Regions from separate parts of the Homo sapiens genome. Here all the other regions are linked to region 4. Evidence: promoter capture Hi-C in 16 types of primary human blood cells and fetal thymus (Javierre and others, 2016). All regions are on one chromosome and are shown on one strand. Each heading gives the region's core, a stretch centred on a gene start or on the middle of the fragment in contact. The rest is flanking DNA. Distances are from core to core; before and after follow the strand shown.

The links. The method cuts DNA at HindIII sites, captures the fragments that hold promoters and counts their contacts. A CHiCAGO score of 5 or more calls a contact.
Region 1: a contact is called between a fragment that was not itself captured here and the fragment with the promoter of KRTAP2-4 in region 4, in 1 of 17 cell types (non-activated CD4 T cells). The highest score is 5.2, in non-activated CD4 T cells.
Region 2: a contact is called between a fragment that was not itself captured here and the fragment with the promoter of KRTAP2-4 in region 4, in 3 of 17 cell types (non-activated CD4 T cells, total CD4 T cells and total CD8 T cells). The highest score is 7.1, in non-activated CD4 T cells.
Region 3: a contact is called between a fragment that was not itself captured here and the fragment with the promoter of KRTAP2-4 in region 4, in 5 of 17 cell types (total CD4 T cells, naive CD4 T cells, naive CD8 T cells and 2 more). The highest score is 7.0, in total CD4 T cells.
Region 5: a fragment that was not itself captured here is called in contact with the fragment with the promoter of KRTAP2-4 in region 4 in 4 of 17 cell types (total CD8 T cells, activated CD4 T cells, naive CD8 T cells and 1 more); the score reaches 6.5 in total CD8 T cells.
Region 6: a contact is called between a fragment that was not itself captured here and the fragment with the promoter of KRTAP2-4 in region 4, in 6 of 17 cell types (activated CD4 T cells, naive CD8 T cells, total CD8 T cells and 3 more). The highest score is 8.4, in activated CD4 T cells.
Region 7: a fragment that was not itself captured here is called in contact with the fragment with the promoter of KRTAP2-4 in region 4 in 4 of 17 cell types (naive CD8 T cells, activated CD4 T cells, non-activated CD4 T cells and 1 more); the score reaches 8.6 in naive CD8 T cells.

What each region holds. Positions count from the first base shown.
Region 1 is chr17:41,454,508-41,457,207 of GRCh38, forward strand. No RefSeq gene overlaps it. Among named protein-coding and RNA genes, the nearest start is that of KRT32, 12 kb to the right of the region's middle. The HindIII fragment of the contact is 2,084 bases long and covers 389-2,472 here.
Region 2 is chr17:41,560,859-41,563,558 of GRCh38, forward strand. No RefSeq gene overlaps it. Among named protein-coding and RNA genes, the nearest start is that of LINC00974, 7.7 kb to the left of the region's middle. The HindIII fragment of the contact is 7,476 bases long and covers 1-2,700 here.
Region 3 is chr17:41,544,626-41,547,325 of GRCh38, forward strand. No RefSeq gene overlaps it. Among named protein-coding and RNA genes, the nearest start is that of LINC00974, 8.5 kb to the right of the region's middle. The HindIII fragment of the contact is 7,630 bases long and covers 1-2,700 here.
Region 4 is chr17:41,064,450-41,067,149 of GRCh38, forward strand. KRTAP2-4 (keratin associated protein 2-4) reads right to left here and starts at 1,430. Exons shown (of 1, transcript NM_033184.4): 1 at 667-1,430. The coding sequence starts at 1,396. The coding sequence ends at 1,010. RefSeq lists enhancers at 626-1,163, 1,164-1,700. The HindIII fragment of the contact is 6,863 bases long and covers 435-2,700 here.
Region 5 is chr17:41,476,223-41,478,922 of GRCh38, forward strand. It overlaps KRT35 (keratin 35), which reads right to left. Exons shown (of 7, transcript NM_002280.6): 4 at 2,612-2,700; 5 at 2,139-2,264; 6 at 1,296-1,516; 7 at 488-981. The coding sequence ends at 834. Among named protein-coding and RNA genes, the nearest start is that of KRT35, 3.6 kb to the right of the region's middle. The HindIII fragment of the contact is 6,798 bases long and covers 1-2,700 here.
Region 6 is chr17:41,505,585-41,508,284 of GRCh38, forward strand. It overlaps KRT13 (keratin 13), which reads right to left and starts at 28. Exons shown (of 8, transcript NM_153490.3): 1 at 1-28. The HindIII fragment of the contact is 2,351 bases long and covers 140-2,490 here.
Region 7 is chr17:41,428,791-41,431,490 of GRCh38, forward strand. No RefSeq gene overlaps it. Among named protein-coding and RNA genes, the nearest start is that of KRT37, 5.6 kb to the left of the region's middle. The HindIII fragment of the contact is 2,088 bases long and covers 286-2,373 here.

The DNA of each region.
Region 1 (2,700 bases), core at 181-2,680, 390 kb after region 4:
CTGCCTTCTGTTGTGAAAAGAAATGTTAAATGTTTTCTCTTTAGAGATGCCCCATTGAAAAGTTAGACTTTGTTCCTTGAGTGACTATCTGGCCTCTCTCTAGGAATGGCATTGGCTCTAAGATGAATCGTCCTCTCCACTGACCTTCAATACCCAAAAAAGTAAAATTCTCTGATAAGAGCCTCAGGAATCCCTAAAGAGCAATAGAGCAAAGACTGCTAAGTTATTAGAACTAAAGAAAACTTCCAAGTACTAATTCAACCTTTCGTGCTTCAGAGACCAGAGAAGGACAGTGAGCTCCCCAGGGATGCCAAGCAAGTCAGATACAGAGCCAGGACTGGTCCCAGGGCCCCTAGCACATTCTGTTTCCTCTGCACCAAGATGGACAAGCTTTTTCTGTTAAAAAGACAGATGCTAAATATTTTAGGCTTTGCAAGTCGTATACTCTCTTTGTACTGCAACTACTTAGCTCTGCCATTGTAGCACAAAGCAGACATAGACAACAGGGAAATGAATGGGTGTGGCTATGCTCCAATAAAACTTGATTTACCAAAACAAGTAGCAGTGGGGTTTGACCTGTGAGCTGTAGTTGCCATCCCTGCTTCACACAGCACAGTGAATGAGGCTTAAAAATTGGACCCCTTAAGCATGTGGGAGACCTTCAGTCCGCTCTGGAGCCAGAGGGCTGGGCAGAGGGAGGGCACCTGGGAATGGATGGTGAACTCCAGGACTGGACGCTGAGCCTCAGACACCAGGGCCTTCACTCTACCAGGGCATTTACACCAAGACTGGAAGTTCATCCAATGCTCTTAGAGCAAAGCAAAGCTACCCATATGTTGTTGTTGCTGCTGCTGCTGCTGCTGTTGTTGTTTCTGAAACTTGGGCTTCAGAATGGCTCCAAAATATGACTCAGCTGCCATTGTAATTGGGGAAAGTCAGAAGAGAAGAGAAATTTGTTGCCAAAGCATGTTTTCTTTACTCAACATTCATCAGGCACCTACAATATGCCAGGCATCATGACAGGCATTTTTATATGTACTATATCCCAACAACTCTGTGAAAAAGGTAGAATTACTCCCATTTCTAAAGGGGAGAAGACTGAGATGCATAGAGATTAAGAGTTCTGCCAAAATCACACAGCACATTAGCAGCAGAACTGGGGGTCTAGCCCAGTTTTTCTGAAGCCAAAGGCACTGATCTTCTCCATTAATCCTAGATGCTCATTGGTGACTTTGTTTACATATTATGATTAAGGGACACTGCTATTTAAATACAAATTTGTCTTGATCAGTTGGGCAAAAAGATAGACATCAAATGATCTTAGGAACTTTCTGTTTAGCCGAATTGATATCATTGCATTCAAGTGTTACATTTTATGAAATACAGGCCGGGTGCAGTGGCTCACGCCTGTAATCCCAGCAGTTTGGAAGGCCAAGGTGGGTGAATCACCTGAGGTCAAGAGTTCGAGACCAGCCTGGCCAACATGGTGAAACCCCATTTCTACTAAAAATACAAAAATTAGCCAGGCATGGTGGCATGTGCCTGTGGTCCTAGCTACTCAGGAGGCTGAGGCACAAGAATCACTTGAACCCAGGAGGCAGAGGTTGCAGTGAGCCAAGATCATGCCACTGCACTCCAGCCTGGGCTACGGGGCGAGACTCTCTCTCCAAAAGAAAAAAAAATTATGAAATACAAAAAGAATATTGTTTTATTATTAATGATTTTCCTGGTTATACCCTGGAAGAGGCATATTCTTTTTTTGATCACTCTCTAAAAGGTTTCCTAATATAGTGGTGAAGAAAGATTCAGTCAGTGCAATTCAGAGTCCACACACAGCCCCAACTCCCAGATGCCAAACCCAACTCCTGGATCTTTCGGGAAGCTGTCGCCCTCTGGCCAGTCTTCCTTGAATGGCAGTTCTGCCCATGGGCCCTCACTCTCACCCCCAGAAGAGGGTGCTTTGCACTAGGGCAGTGAGCAGCAGGGGTGAGGCCCAAACTCTTGAATAGCCTTGGGGAAAGTGGTGTCTTTAAAAAGCACACCCTTTTCTTTTCCAATCCCGCTCAGAGAGGATCCCTGATACCTGTGAGGGTTTCTCCAAAACATCAAATATGACAGAGGTTTTATGACTTGACCAGGGTCCTGCCTACATTTCCCTATAAACTCTTCCCCTATAAAGAGTTAATTAGATGCAAATGCTTTGATATGAGGAGAGAGTTCCTCTGAGAATCTCCATGAGTGGTACACTGAGTCCAGTTCCCAGGAGATTCCGGTGCTGGTGGGGGATAAATATCTCCCAAAGTCTATGCCCACGGCTTCTTCATCCATCAAATAAGAGACAGGCTAGGCAGGAGGGTAGCTCGTGACACCTCTGGCTTGAAGTACCATCCAGACACAGAAGATGATGGGCCTCACTTCTAGCAGAGGAGGGTACTCCTGGCCCTGGGCTGTGGGGCTTGGTTTCATATAAAAAGCTTTAACAGTCATCTTGGGAGTCAGACAGGTCTTGGCAAGTGGGAGAGACACACAGGTGTGGGAATGGGGACCGAGTTGGACTGAAACAATATGCACTGGGGAAACGGAGACTCTGGAAGTCCCCAGGGGGTCCAGGGTCCAGGACTTCTGGCCCACAACTCCTGTGCAATCATTCCTGCTGAGGCTCTGGGCTGCAGCTCAAGGTCTTTGCTCTTACTGAGCCCA
Region 2 (2,700 bases), core at 8-2,507, 500 kb after region 4:
GTCTGGAGTGGACTAGACATAGTCAGTAAAAGGATCCTGATCCTTACCAGTAAGGATTACGTGGTTTAGAAAAAGGACCAGCAACACTACATCTCTAAGGGAATGACAGAGATTAGTGCCACATGAAAGATTTGATGGGCCAGGAGTGGTGGCTCATGCCTGTAATCCCTGCACTTTGGAAGGGCAAGATGGGGAGAGAACACAGGAATGTAAGATCAGCCCTGGCAATAGAGTGAGATCCCTGTCTCTAGTTTAAAAAAAAAAAAAAAAAAAAAAAAAACCTCAAAAATTAGTCTGGCGTGGTGGCACACGCTTGTAGTCCCAGCTACTTGGGAGCCTGAGGTAGGAGGATTGCTTGAACCTGGGAGGTCAAGGCTTCAGTGAACTGTGATTGTACCACTGCCCACCGGCCTGGGCAACAGAGAGAGACCCTGTCTCAAAAAAAAAATGATAAATTTAGGGTTAACTTGCCTAGTTTTTCTGTGCAGAACATGAACAGATGTTAGAGAATAGCCATGAATTATTTTACAATTTATCACATGGTTGTTCCAACAGCAGTCGTTGATCCAGATTGTGTCCCTTTTCTAAAGCAGATCACCATTGACCCTGGCACCTGCTGTGGGAAATTCTTTTTTCTTTATCCCAATAAACAAAGAGTACCAGAATAAATATGCTTTCACCTGCAGAGAAAGCAACACGGTCATTCCCCTTATCCATGGTTTCGCTTTCCACAGCTTCAGTTACCTGTGGTCAACTGTCATCCAAAAATATTAAATGGAAAATTCCAGAAATAAACAATTTGTCAGTTTTGAAGTGTGCTGCCCTGAAGAGCATGATGAAATCTCACACTGCCCCACTCTGTCCAGCCCAGGACAGGAATCATCCCTTTGTCCAGCTCTCCATGCTCTATGCACCACCCACCCACTAGTCGTCGCTTAGTAGCTGTCTCAGTTGTCAGATCAACTGTTGCAGTATTGCCGTGCTTGTGTTCCCTTATTTTACTTAATTACGACCCCAAAGTGCAAGAGCAGTGATGCTGATAATTCAGATTTGCCAAAGGGAAGCCACAAAGTGCTTTTTTTTTTTTCTTAAAAGGAGTTTTGCTCTTGTTTCCCAGGCTGGAGCACAATGGCGTGATCTCGGTTTACCTCAACCTCTGCCTCCCGGGTTCAAGCGATTCTCCTGCCTCAGCCTCCCAAGTACCTGAGATTACAGGCATGCGCCACCATGCCTGGCTAATTTTGTATTTTTGGAAGAGACAGTGTTTCTCCATACTGGTCAGGCTGGTCTCAAACTCCTGACCTCAGGTGATCCTCCAGCCTTGGCCTCCCAAAGTGCTGGGATCACAGGCATGAGCCACCGCGCCCAGCCAGCAAAATGCTTTCTTTAAGAGAAAAGATGACAGTTCAAAACTTACTACGGAAAGAAAAAAACCATACGCTGAGGTTGCTAAGATCTACAGTATGATAAGATATTTTGAAAGAGAGAGACCACATTCAAATAATTTTTATTACAGTATATTGTTATAACGATTCTATTTTATTAGTTATTGTTGTTAATCTCTTGGTCTGCCTAATTTATAAAGTAAACTGTATCTTAAGTATGAATGTGTAGGAAAAAGCATAGTGTAGATAGATTTAGGTGCTATCCACAGTTTTGGGCATCCAGTCAGGATCTTTGAATGTATTCCCTGTGAAATAATGAGCAACTACTGGGCATCTTTTCCAGGATGTGCAGAGAATCAAACTTGGAGGGTATGCAAACAGAAAAATTCCCCAAATCACACTCAAGGATTGCTCTAGGAACACACCACTGCTGTCACTTCTGGCCACCAAAATTGAAGCTCAAACTATGGATGATGGGCACTGCATGTCTTTGCCAGAGCCGCTGCTATTGCTTCCTCAAAAAATCACATATCTCTGCCCAACCTTGTTCCTGCCATAAAAAATTCCACTCAGCACCTCCTTTAAATCAAAATCAAAGTCCTTCACTCCAATGGGGTGCCATGGTTAAAAAAAAAAAAAAAACGTCTTGTGCGGGCGCACCTGAGTGGCAGGGCTGTCAGGGGCCCATGCCCTAGATGCAGGTGAGCTCGGAAAAGCAAGTTTCTGACCTCTCCCTTGGGGAGCTTCACACTTAAGGTGGAGAATTTCCCAAATTGAGGTAGAGAAAAGATACATAAAATGGGCCAGGCCTTGTGGCTCACACCTGTAATCCCAGCACTTTGGGAGGCCGAGGCAAGTGGATCACCTGAGATCAAGAGTTCAAGACCAGTCTGGCCAACATGGTGAAACCCCCGTCTTTACTAAAAATACAAAAATTAGCTCAGCGTGGTGGCAGGTGCCTGTAGTTCCAGCTACTCAGGAGACTGAGGCAGAAAATCGCTTGAACCCGGGAGGTAGAGGTTGGATTGAGCTGAGATCGTGCCACTGCATTTCAGCCTGGACGACAGAGTGAGACTCCGTCTCAAAAAATAATAATAATAATAAATAAAATAAATAAAAAGATATGTAAAATGGTAGATGAGGAAGACAGCAGGTAGCAGAAAAAGAACCAGAGAAGAGTAAACAGTTGCATATTAACAGCGGAGCGCTAGAAAAGAGATCACAGACTCTCACTGCTCAGGTGTCTTGCTAGAGCCACCTTTGACCCAGAGACACTGATGACCTGCCTGCTCCCATATCCACAAATTCCAGGATC
Region 3 (2,700 bases), core at 41-2,540, 480 kb after region 4:
ATGGGGGAGGGAAAGATCTACACAAATAGCTACAAAAGAGAGGCCCAGCAGTATAGCGTAGCAGGCAAGATTAATCAGTGACCATGTAGCAAGGCAGTGACAGGCCTGGCCTTTGAAAAGAGCCACGCCTTGGGGTGAGAGCCACTCATTAGCCAGGCCCAGGTATTCACCTCCCTAAGCTCCAGTTTCCTCCCCTATAAAACATGGACCATAATCACACCAGTGTGGCATGTGGTTTAGAGCCCAGGCCTTGGAGCCAGGGTGGCCTGGGTTTGATTCACAGAGCCACCATTTTATTTCAAAGCCATGTCATGCAACGGCCGTTACCTCACCTGTCAGAACCTCAGTGTCCCCGCCTCTGAAATGAGGCTAATAACACCAACCTCAGAGGGCTTGTGGGGGAATAAATGAAAAATCAGGTGTGAAGCACAGTATCTGGCACTCCATAAAATCAAGAGCTATTACCAGCAACATGAAGGTTAAATGGCATGTGTCAGTCATCACCGCAGGGGACAACCACTCAGCAGGTGTGGGCTGGGAGGAGCTTTCTGTTCTGTTTTTTGGGTTTTTTGTTTGTTGAGATGGGGTCTTGCTCTGTCACCCAGGGTAGAGTGCAGTGGCGCAATCCTAGCTCATTGCAGCCTCAAACTCCTGGGCTCAAGTGATCCTCCTGCCTCAGCCTCCTCAGTAGCTAGGGCTACAAACATGCACTACCATGCCTGGGCCAATTTTTTTTTTAAGAGACCTGTTCTTGCTATGTTGCCCAGGCTGGTCTTGAACTCCTGGGCTTAAGCAATCTGCCTGCCTCGGCCTCCCAAAGTGCTGAGGTTACAGGTATGAGCCACCATACCTGGCCAGGTATGGGTTTTTATAAAAGATTTTGTGAGAGGATAGGCACAGTGGCTCACACCTATAATCTCAGCACTTTGGGAGGTCGAGGCAGGTAGACTGCTTGAGTCCAAGAGTTCAAGATCAGCCTAGGTAACATCTCTACAAAAAATGATCAGGGCATGGTGGTATGTGCCTGTAGTTCCAGCTACTCGGGAGGCTGAGGTGGAAGGATTACCTGAGCCCAGGAGGTTGAGGCTGCAGTGAGCCATGATCACACCACTGCACTCCAGCCTGGGTGACAGAGTGAGACCTTGTCTCAAAAAAAAAAAAAAAGATTTTTGTGGGAGTCGCTCACTGCTCCCTGTGCGGTGGGGTGGAGGGAAGGGGAAAGTGTTCTTCCAAAAAGCTGAGATTTGAAGAATGAGGAGTGGGAAGAAAAGGGCTCGGGTGGTGGGTGTTTCTGGCACAGGGAAAGCTGTGGGAAATGGCCTGGCCAGGTGAGACAATGCGGGGAGTTCAGGGAGGGAGCAGTTCAGTGTGTTGGAGGCGTAACACTGGGAGAGTTGGAGGCCTGGAGGCTGGGGAAGGCAGGGGAGGGGACAAGTGCTGCCTGCGGGCCTGTTGGCAGTGGGGGTGTGGGTGGATAAGAGACGGGCCAATGGAGGGCCTCACGGAGGGGACAACTGCGAGGGTCCGACTCACCATGCAGGTCCTGAATAAAGCCGTGCTGGGCCTGGAGAAGTGTGGGTCGGGGAGGGATGGACACTGAACAGCAAGGCTCACCTCACATCCAGGAGGCCCCCCGCCAGCCCCGCCATGCCACAGGCACTGACGGTTGCCACTAAGCCTCAGAGGCCAACTGCATTTATTTGGAAATGGAGCAAGGCACTGGCCATGTCCAGGCTGGCTTTCCAGCCCTGTCCCCCAAAATCACAGTCTTCCTGCAATTACTCACAGGTGCTGGCCAATAGTGCTTAGGTTCTCAAATGCCTGCTTCTACTCAGGCTATCCTATCCACCTGCAGGGTCCTTCCCCTCAGCCGTCACAGGTTGAAACTGTGCCTCTTCACCATTGCCTGGAGTAGACAGAATAATGGCCCTCCAAAGATACGCCAATCGGAACCTGTGAGCATGTACCTTCCATGGCAGAAAGAGACTTTGCAGATGTGATTACATTAAGGATCTTGGAATGGGGGTTGGGTTATCCTGGATTATCCGATTGAGTCCAAAGTAATCACAAGGGTCCTTGTAAGAGAGAGGCGAGATGGTCAAGGTCACAGAGAGGAGCTGGGACCATGGAAGCAGAGGTCAAAGTGAGGCACTTTGAAGGAGGAAGATCCCACAAGCCAAGGAAGGCAGGCAGCCCCTGGAGGCTGGAAGAGGCCAGGAGACAGACTCTCCCGTAGAGCCCCTAGAAAAAAAGCATTTCTGATGACACCTTGATTTTAGCCCATAAGGCCCATTTCAGATTTCTGACTTCCAGGCCTAGAAGATAGTAAGTTTGTGTTGTTTTAAGCCACTGAGTTTGCCACCACTTGTTACAGCAGCAACGTGGAACTCATACATCACCTCTTCCTTCAGGCCTTTGTGATCCCTGGCACTCGCTCTTCCTCCTCTGAGCCCCTCTGGTGCTTTACCTGACCCTCTCCCAGGCACTGTCCTCTTCCTATATGGGTGAGAATTCATTGGCTCTTATCCCCTCTACCAGCCAGTGAGCTCCTTGAGGCTGGGGTCTGGCTCATATTTGTGCCCCCTTGCCCAACCACTGGTTGGGCTGATAATTCTCCCTGGATCCTTAGATCTACTCTCCACCTTCCTCTGTCCTGCTCTGTACCTGGAAGGATGATCCCTGTGTCACTGGCTCCCTTCC
Region 4 (2,700 bases), core at 180-2,679:
CACTTTGGGTGTCTTCATTGTGGCTTGTCCTTGTGACTATTCTTGGAAGGCTTCCAGGCCATGCTTGTTAAGCCCTCAAGGAGCTCAAATCCTGGTCTTCCTCTGAAATAATGGTCCTGAAATTCTAATGAATTACATGGAAGTGATAGAAAATAAACAGCCTTGGGCCCCACTCCCAGAGATTTTGATTCATTAGGTTTGGTTTGGGGCCTAAGAATGTGCATTTTAATAGGCAATTGCAAGAGATTCTATTGTGTATGACGCATGGGCCACACTTTGAAAAATGCTACTCTAGGAACTGTGGTAAGAAGATGAGATGCGCTGTGCTGGTCAGTTTACTACCAGTGGTCATTCTGGGCTTGGCATATGCTATTCCCACTTCTACCCCTCTTCATGAACATTGTCTTTCCTTTTGTCTATTCCATTAGACCATAAGCTTCTTGGATACAAGGCATGTAGCTTGTTCATCACTAATCAGGCAGCACCTGTCAACTGGAGGTCCCTTGATAAACAATTCCTGAATGACTGAATAGATGAGATTTCTATGGATAAGGTTTTGCTTAGGTTGAGCTTTGTTTCCCTTGTGCAGGTTCCAAAATCTTGCTTATCTGTGTACGCTAATAAACATGCACTAACGAACAAATCAGGGAGCAGGGCAGTCTGCTATGCCAGGAAAAATTAGTTTATTGACAACAGTGAGCAACACATTGCAAAAGATGATGGTGACAGTTTGAGCAGTAAAAACCATCAGGTTGTAGAATGTGTTTGCAAAGTCCACCCCAGGAATTCTTAAAGGTCGATTTACTATCCATAATGACTAAGGCTGATGTAGACACCTGAAAATGTGGGTGAGGGTGGTAATGGACGTCTGCTTACACCAGGCTGTATCCAGATGGTAAAAATCACTATTGTCACCTTGTGAAAAAAAATCTATTTTTCTTTTAACTTTTTAAAAACACCAGATAGATGTTTAGGCTTCAGTGTATTGCTCTGTGGGGGCATTGGGGTCTCAGCAGGAGGAGGTCCTGCAGGTGGTGCTGCAAGGGGTCGGCTGGCCGCAGGGGGGCCGGCAGCAGGGGGACTGCACAGACACAGGCTGGCAGCAGGTGGTGGCCCAGCAGCAGGGCCTGCACACCACAGCCGTGCACGACGAGGGGCAGCAGGTGATGGGGCGGCAGCAGCCTTCCTGCAGGGAGCAGGGGTCGCAGCACACCGGGCGGCGGCAGGGCTCGCAGATGGGGCGCGTGCAGCGGGGCACGCAGGTCACGGGGCGGCACACGGTGGTCTGGCAGGTCACGGGGCGGCAGCAGCAGGGGTCGCGGCAGCAGCAGGGCTGGCAGCAGCCTCCCCCGTAGCTCAGGGAGGACAAGGTGGAGCCGCAGCAGGAGCCGGTCATGGTGGTGTCTGAGGCTGGTGTGGGTTGGGCTATTGAGAGGAGCTGGATGTTCTCAGGTGTGAATGTCCTCCTCCCCCTCTGGGCCCTTTATATACCCTGGCTGGGAGCTGATGACCCTTCAACATATGATCATTTTCTTGTGCATCTTCTGGCCAATTAAGTGAAGATTTAGCATTGACTAATGGTATTTTGGTCACTCTTCACCTCATACATATTCATGTACATACACCACAAATATTCGCTCATTTTCTTGTATTGTTTATCCTCACTAAATTTAGACATTGGATTCACTTCTGATTAATTTTCCTTTGAAATATTCCTAACCCATAAGAGAGAAAAGAATGTGTTTTCTAAATTAGTGTCTAATCGCTCTGCCCTTTGGCGCTAAAATTAGCATGTTCTTCCTTGTCTTCAAAGGCTCCCATCACCGGCACCCAAGCAGTGACTTGCCTTATTAATGCACATGGGCATGATGGTAGCAGGTTAATTGCATCATCCTAGTGCAGACCAGTAGTCATCTGCTTCACAGATAGCTCCTTCCATGACTCACTTAAAGATAGGCTTGTGGTTTTTCATATGAGCAGGGACCACACGAAATGCAGATCCCTGGCCACTGGTGTGGTCACTCTCCCCTGACTAGGACCTGGGCTTTCCTGCCTTGGTTTTGATGTGTCATCATTCACCTGGAATGCCCTCCTCATCCTTCCAATCCAAACTCAACTTCTACCTTGATTGTAAAACCCTCTTCAAGGATCCATTGCAATTATTATATTTGTAATTTGTTTGGAATTAGTCGTTGCATCTGTAGAGTCCGGGAAGGGATTGCGGAGAATATGTAGGCCTATGCCCTCACTCTACAGCTGAGGTCCTGAGAGTGTACCAAGGTCACACAATGAGGTCACCATATGAGGTCTGAGATCCAGGTCTCCTCAGTCTGCAGTAAGTAGCCTCTACTATGAGTTTTATGCTCATTGGATTCAGTAAACCATGGTCTTTAGACAGGAAAGAAAACATATATTAAAGTAGAAGCCCAGACTTCATGCCACTATGCAATATATCCATGTAACAATGCTGCATTTGAACCTCTTACATTTATACATATTAAACACAGATTTAAAAAAATAAGTAATGAACTTTCCTTTCAGCAGCAAGGTTAGAAGTGGTACTGGAAGAGAATTAGGGAAATGTTTTGCCCAGATGACACATTGTCATCCTGGACCCCCATTGACTCCACTAAGTATGACAATGTGTCTGAGAGCTAGAGAAGGGACCTGGAGAAAGCTAACATGATGCAGGGTTTATTA
Region 5 (2,700 bases), core at 111-2,610, 410 kb after region 4:
TGTTAAGGGGGTTGCTGAACTTGGAGGGCTGCATGAAAGGGCTGCAATGGTAGGGGGCTTATGTAAATGCACCCCTAAAAGTACCCTGGGAGGGAGACACCCTATCGCCGGTCTTACAAGGACCACAGACAAGAGGCTGATAAAGTGGCCTAAAACCCTCCCTGTTATGCTGATCTCAGTTTCCATCTCAGTTTTGTCCCTCCCACTCTGGGATCCCCAGGTGACCACGTATACTAAGAGGGATTCCACAGCAGTCTGAAAACACCTGGCACCACACTGGAATCTTGGAGAAAGGTCTTCATCAGGGAAGCCAAGCAAAAGCTCTCACTGTAGGCCTCTACCCACCCCAAACAGGGGCATAGTGACCCTGTCATCCAAAGGGTCATACTTGGTCACACATCTCCCATTCGGCTGCCCAACAGTCACCCCCTGGACACAGCAGAGACACAAGCCAACAACACCAGAATGGTGCAAGTTAGGCATCAGGGGCCTGAGCAAATGCACTTTATTGTTCTGCCAACAAAAGCCCTCTACTGCATTTCAGAATCCACCGGAACAGCACCTAGAAGGAAAACCTGACCCAGGAGGCAGCCTGAGAACAGAGACCCTGGCACCCATTGAAATGATGAGGAGTTGAGACCTTTGGGGGCAGCCGGCCTTTGTGACAGGCTCTGAGAAACTTTAGGGCATGTATTTGCAGAAAGCCTTTTCAGCCAGACCCTGGGCCTGGGCTCTGCGCGAAGAGAGGGGATTGGGCTACAAGGGTTAAGTTTGGGTAGAGGCCAAGTTCAAGCCCTGGAGACAATAGCCATGGCCATCTGGGTCACCCGCTCTCAGAACCGACCCCCTGGGCAGGGCACACAAATGGGGCGGGGGCTGCAGTTTGTGCGGGCTGCACTAGGACCGCAGGAGGCCGCAGGAAGACAGGGAAGGCATGACTTGGAGGGTGAGTAGTCAGGTGCACATGGGTTACAGGGGAGCCTAGAAAAAAGAAAACAAATTACTGTGATTTTCCAGTTGCTGTTTGCAGTAACTCAAAGTAGATCCTAGACTATGCAAACTGGGAAGCACCCTAAAAACCACCTTGATCCTGCCCCCTTGTTTTACCAAAAGGGAAACAGGCCCTGAGAGGAAAGGGGGCTTGCTGGAGTCACGTGATGAGTTTTCAGGAAGACCAGAACTAAGAGAACAGAACTCCAGACTCCGAATGCCAGGCTCTTTCTAGGCACCATGCTGTCTTCCCAGAACTTGGTAGATTGCAGTGAGAAGACAAGAGCACATGCAGTGATACTCACTTGCTGTCCTCACTCTCCAGCAGGCCCCGGTACGTGTTGATCTCACACTCCAGCCGGGCCCGGACGTCCAGCAGCACCTGGTACTCCTGGTTCTGCCGCTCCAGGTCAGCCCGGATCTCGGCCAGCTGGGCCTCCACGTTGGTGATCATGCACTGCATCTGGGCCAGCTGGGAGCTATAGCGGGCCTCCGTCTCTGCCAGGGTGGATTCCAAAGCATCTCTCTGTGAGGGCAAGAGTTGTGTAGGGAGGAAAAAGGCTAGAGGTCAGAGAAGGAGCAAGGAAGGAATCTTCCTTGGAGCTATAGCGGGCCTCCGTCTCTGCCAGGGTGGATTCCAAAGCATCTCTCTGTGAGGTCAAGAGTTGTGTAGGGAGGAAAAAGGCTAGAGGTCAGAGAAGGAGCAAGGAAGGAATCTGGGTCTCAGTGAGGCCTCAGAATCCAAGAACAGAAGCTCGGAGAATCAGAGTTTGAGCTAGGATGAACCACAATCAGACATCTCACTTGAGATGAGCTAATTAGCCCCTGTGGCTTCTTTGATCTAGAAAGTATCTCCCTGTTAGTGTCATCTCTGAGTAACTGATAGTTACTCAGAAGATGTATCTGCTTGCACAAATATAGGACCTACTGCCTGGACATGTCAGTTGCTACAGGTCTCTTGTCCTTTACCACTGGGGGATTTGTGACTGGAGCTGGTCCCTCATTCCCTCTTTTCTGCATAGAGAACCCCTGGTGCTCAAGAACATGGACCCCTGGAGTCCGCCTGTGTGGTCAAAGCATGGAAGCTGGGGAGCTTGTGTGCTCCTCGGCTTGGTCCAGAGGCAGCTCCACCCTGCCTTGGGGCTCACCATGCTGTGCTGAGCCTGCAGCTCAATCTCCAGGGCGTTGACCGTGCGTCTCAGCTCGATGATCTCTGCCTGGCAGGACTGCAACTGCTCTGAGCTGGACACCACCTGCTGGTTCAGCTCCTCACTCTGAAACATACACACACAGAACCTGGTCAGCCACACCAGGGACTTGGCTTCAGAGAGCTACAGAGGCCGGTTAGAATCATGAGCCAAGAAAGACATTCCCGATTCCCCAGTCCCACTCATTTATTTTATACTGGAGGGCATTGTTGCTCAGAGGACAGCAACCTGCCCAAGTGGGTCTGTTTTGACCTTGTCAGCAAGGTCAATTGAAGTGGGTCTGTTTTGACCTTGTCAGCAAGGTCAAAACAGAGATGGGACTCAAAGTTAGATTTCTTGATTCAGAGCCCCAGGGTCACTTCCATGTGAGCCACCACATACCCCTGTTGCACTGACTGTTTCCAGGTACCTACCTGGGTGTCCAACCAGTCTTCAGCATCCCGGCGGTTATTCTCCACCAGGGTTTCATACTGGCACCTCATCTCCTCCAGAACTCGGTTCA
Region 6 (2,700 bases), core at 65-2,564, 440 kb after region 4:
AGCTTGCTTGGCCTGGGCCGAGGACTGTGGCTCTTCCCCAGAGTGGACACCTTTTATACACCTCCATAGGGGCTGGTTATCTTCTCTCCTCCCTTCCCCACCCTCTGACTTGGTGCCAACTACACTTCTGTTTCCCACAAGCTTAGTTATCTCTGATCTCTCCAGGGTGGGTTGTGCCTTTTGGGGGTGGCTTTTTTTTTAATCCTTAACAAAAAGAATGATTCAGAGGGGACAGCATTCTGCCTGAGACTGCCCTTTTGACAAGTGAATTCTGTTTCACCTCCACTTAAGGAGTTCACTGTGCAGGCTCTGAGCCCCACCCAGTATTAGAACGGGACCTGAGATGCGGAGGCCTGCCAGGAGCTTCTGCGAGGAAAGTGGTGGGTGCAGAGTGGCTCTGTGCTTTGCAAGGTCACCGTAGCCCTCGACCTTCCTTTTTTCTATACCTAAAACTTCTGACTGGGATGTCCTGGATCCTTCTTAGCACTTCATCTACTCCAGGGGCCCCAGCAACTCTGATGACAAACTTTGCTTGGTTCGATAGAATCACCTGCCTTGAAAGTATTTAGACTGAGAAAGAAATAGCTCCGAGGCCATCAGAAAAAGTCACAGTGACAGAGACCTTAAGGGATCTTAGGGACCATCAGACACAGCTGTGGAAACTCAGGCATGGAAAGAGGAAGTGGCCCTGTCCATTATCATAGCGAATATTCTCCGAGCCCTCACCATAGGCAGGAACTGGGTGAAGTTACTTTACACTCATCATCTCATTTAACCTTCACAGCAGCCACAGGAGGAGGGTCCTACTATTGCCCCCATTTACACATGAGGAAAATGAACCTTAAGGGCAGAATCAGGACTGAAATCCAAGTCTGGTTCTGTCTGACGCTAAGGTGCATTTTTTAGGTACATTTTTCATACAGTAAAATGTATAGATCACGTGTCCAGCTTGATGTCACGCATGGGTATGCACGACCTGTGTAAACACCACCCAGGACATTCCCAGCATTCCATAAAGGTCCTTGTACCTTTTCCCAGTCAATTACCTGACTCCACACCCCTGGTGTAACCACTCTTCCAACTTCTGTCCCCATAGACAAGTTCAGAGGTCCTCAGCTAGAGGCTGCTTTGCTCTCCAGGGGACGTTTGACAATGTCTAGGAACATTTTGGTTGTCACAACTTGGGGGCACTACTGATAGCTAAACACCAGGTATGCTGCTAAACATCCTATAAGGTGCAGGACTGTCCCCACAGCAAAGAATTATCAGACCCAAAATATCAATAGTGTTGAGGTTGAGATGCCTGGGTCAGTCTGGCCCTCGGGTTGAATCACTCCATTACGCTGACTGCTTTAGGGCACAGTCACATCCAGGAAGACGGCCCTGTAATAATGTGAGCAGGGTCCTTTCTAGTACGCCAGTCATATGAGGTCTGTCCCAGCCAAGAGGCCACATAAGAGGATGTGACACAGGACCCAGGGCCAGGGTCTCAGCTTAGGATCCTGAGATGTGGCTGAGAAACTCAGGGACTATGTAAGAACCCTGCCAGAGGGAGCTTCCCCATTCAGGCTGGGAGAAAAGGACCTCAGATGGCATCTGTGAGGCCAGGATAGAAGGTCCTCCATTCCAGGGCTGACAATGGAGGACCCTGAATGCAGACTCCCAGGCCCCACTCACCAAGGGGCCAGGGTTGCTGTGGATGGCATCTTGGGAGCAGCTTTCTGGCCCACAGCAGCCACAAAGGTCTGGATGATACCAGGCCAGGGGCTGGGTGGGGTGGCACAGGCATGAGGTTCTCCTGGAACCCCCTTCACTGATTCAGCAAGATCAGAAAGGAGAAATCTGAGTCAGGGCTTTCTGGGCCTTTGTTTTCTGGGGTAGAGAAGCGGGCCTGTGCTTCCCGCAGGGGTATCAGCAGGGACAGAGCCAGGGCACGTTGCCAGTGTTCTAACAGCCTTGCGAGGCCAGGGATTCAGGCTAACCCCTGACCCTGCCCGGCCCTCCTGCCCAAGCTGATGGCTCAGCTCTCTCTCTCTCTCTCTCTCTCTCTGAAAAGGGGTGATTCAGCCCAAAGCAGGAGCTCTTGCTCTCTCGGTAGAGGATCAAAACTGACAAGAAGGTGATTAATGGAACCTGCCATGCCTGGGGTAACAATGCCCCAAACCTCCCAGAGCTGACAAGCAGGTTCAGGCCAACGCCTCTTAGAGTAACAATGCTGCAGATCCTCCAAAGCCCCAGTAACACAAACACGGAGTGGCCCGTGACATTCCTTCCTTTGCGGGGTCAGGGCACAGCCTCTGCCCGCTTAGCGGGGACTTGTAATGCCTTGACACAGGACTGCCTTCCTCCAACCCGCAGTGAATCCCAGAGCCCTCTGGGAGGAAGCTAGGCAGAGATCCAACCAGGGACCCATCTTTTTTCCTATTTCCACCCTGGTCCTAATGGAAGAAGGAGAGAGCGCTGGGGCTGAGGCACTGCTACCTCGTCTTAAGCTTTCTGCTTTGTTTTTTGGCAAAAACAACAACAACAACAAAAAGAAACCCAATGACTGCGGTCTCCTCCCAAGAACGTTTCAAGGGAAGGAGCAGCAAAACTGCATTATGAGTACCCCTGCAAGCAAGGCTGGGCTTAACACACTGTCACCAAGTCTCACAACAGGAGAGGGTTTAAGTCAGCCCCATTTTATAGATGAGGCAGCCA
Region 7 (2,700 bases), core at 80-2,579, 360 kb after region 4:
TCAGAGGCCTCTGGGTGCAATCTGCATTTTCCATCTTCAAAGACCCCTTTGTTCCTATCTTCCGCCTCAACACATAGCATCACTATAATCCAGAGAATTGAAGCATTAAAATTCTTCCCTTTGATTTGCTAAATAGGAACCCTCTCTTGACCCTATCCTCTGGCAGGATTTTATCCCATTGGCTAAAATCATGGTTCCTTCTGTCTCAGAACATATGACACTTGTTAATTCTTAAGCATCACAGCTGAAGCTTTGCATCCTTTGCGTCCTGACACACCTCTCCAAAGCTTGATATGTGTCTCTGGCTTGGGCTCTGCATGGTCCATTTTGCATAATGACATAGACACTGCCTAGTCCTTCGTACAGCAGAGGGCTCTTCTGATTTTCTTTGGTCTCAAAGGAACAGGCAGTAGGTGGAAGGCATGAGGCAGGTGTCTGGGATGTACTCAGCTGTGTAGGTGGGAAGGAGCCCATCCTTGACATTGCAGATGATCAGATGAGCCTCCTCTTCCTCCCTTTTTTTTTTTTTTTTGAGACAGAGTCTCGCCCTATTACCCAGGCTGCAGTGCAATGCAATGCAATGGCATGATCTCGGCTCACTACGACCTCCACCTCCCGGGTTCAAACGATTCTCCTGCCTCAGCCTCCTTAGTAGCTGGGATTACAGGCACCCGCCACCACACCCAGCTAATTTTTGTATTTTTAGTAGAGATGGGGTTTCACCATGTTGGCCAGACTGGTCTTGAACTCCTGACCTCGTGATCCACCCACCTCAGCCTCCCAAAGTGCTGGGATTACAGGCATGAGCCACCGTGCCCGGCCCTCTTGCTCCTCTTTAAAAAGAGTTTCTGGCCCCTGAAAATAAACATATATTCCAAGTTGCATGAAGGGAGGTATCAGAGATGAAGAGAGAAGACAGAGGTAGTCCTGCAGCCCTCCTTCCTTCACAGGGGCCACCTCTTCTCTCTTGAGGATTAAAAGATTTTGAGCTGTAATCTCTCTTCAGGCAGAGGGGAAACACTGGGTTCAGAACAGCATCACTTGGTGCCACGGTGCAGACGCATCTCTGAGTCTGACCGTTCTGACGCATCTCTGAGTGAGACAGAAGCAGAGGCACTGGGCGGTCCACAGGGTGTGAGTCTAATCTGCAACCACCTGCTCCAGCTGCAGAGGAAAAATTCTGAAGACACCTAAGGAAACAGGAGCTGCCCACACACTGCATCCTGATGTGAATTACGCCAGGAAAACATCTGCAAACCACGACCAGCAGTGTGTCCTGATACCACTGTGCCTGCAAGGCTCTCAGACATGCTGGGTGAAAACAGAGTCTGAGGAAGGATAACCCAAAACACCTTTATCATTTCAAAAGTCCACCTCAGAAGGCTTTGAAAAAAAAAAAAAAGTCACCGTTTTCTTTTCTATTAAATAGGATTTTAAAATCTAGTTACTTGGGAAACTTTGGTTTGATTTTAAGTATTTTTAAATTATTATTCTGCTTTATTCTTTTTTTGTTTTTCTTTTCTTTTTAGATGGAGTTTTGCTCTTGTTGCCCAAGCTGGAGAGCAGTGGTCTGATCTTGGCTCACTGCAACCTCCGTCTCCTGGATTCAAGAGATTCTCCTGCCTCCGCCTCCTGAATAGCTGGGATTACAGGCGTACGCCACCACGTCCGGCTAATTTTTTGTATTTTTAGCAGAGATGGAGTTTCACCATGTTAGCCAGGCTGGTCTCCGACTCCTGACCTCAGGTGATCCACCCACCTCGGCCTCCCAAAGTGCTGGGATTACAGGAGTGAGCCACAGCGCCCTGCCTAGTTTGCTTTATTCTTATCCCAGGTCTTAAGGTCATCAGAGACTAAATACTGAAAAAGTTATCTTCATTTCCCCTCCCCTTTGTTCCCTGATCCTAGAGTTTCTTTATCTACATGCTAAGGCAGGAAATTTCCCCTTATTTACCTCATACCAAGACCTATTACAAAATCCTTTAATGCAGCATAGTAGAGGTTTAAGACAATGAATTTTGGATCCAGCCTGCCTGGGTTCAGATTCTGGTTCTATCATTTATTAGCTGTGTGAACTTGGGCTGGTGACTTGACCTCTCTGTGCCTCAAATTCTGCTTATGCACAATGGAGTGACAATAGCACCTAGCTAATGGATTTAAGTTTTAAAAAAATCCATACCTGTAAATCACGTAAAATAGTGTCTAGCACAGAGTACATGGTAAGCACTAAATAAGTGTTGTGTTTTTTAATGGATTTTACTGTTACTGGTGTGTTTACATGCTTACACCATTCATAATTCAAAAATGCTTATTAAATTACTTATTTTTTACTTATTTAAGTTAGCAAAGATCAGAAGTTTAGTCTTACTAAAAAGCTTTTGCACAGCAAAAGAAACAACAGAGTGAAAATACAACCTACTGAATGGGAGAAAGAATTGTAAATCATATATCTGATAAAGGGTTAGCCTCCAAAATATATAAGGAAGTCCTACAACTCAACTGTAAAAAATAATTTTTTTTAATTTAAAAATGGGCTAAGGATTTCTATAGACATTTCTCTAAAGTAGACGTACAAACGGCCATCAGGTATATGAAAAAATGCTCAAAGTCACTAGCCATAAGGGAAATGCAGATCAAAGCCATGAGACATCACTTCACACCACTCAGGATGGCTACTATCAAAAAAAAAAAAAGACAACT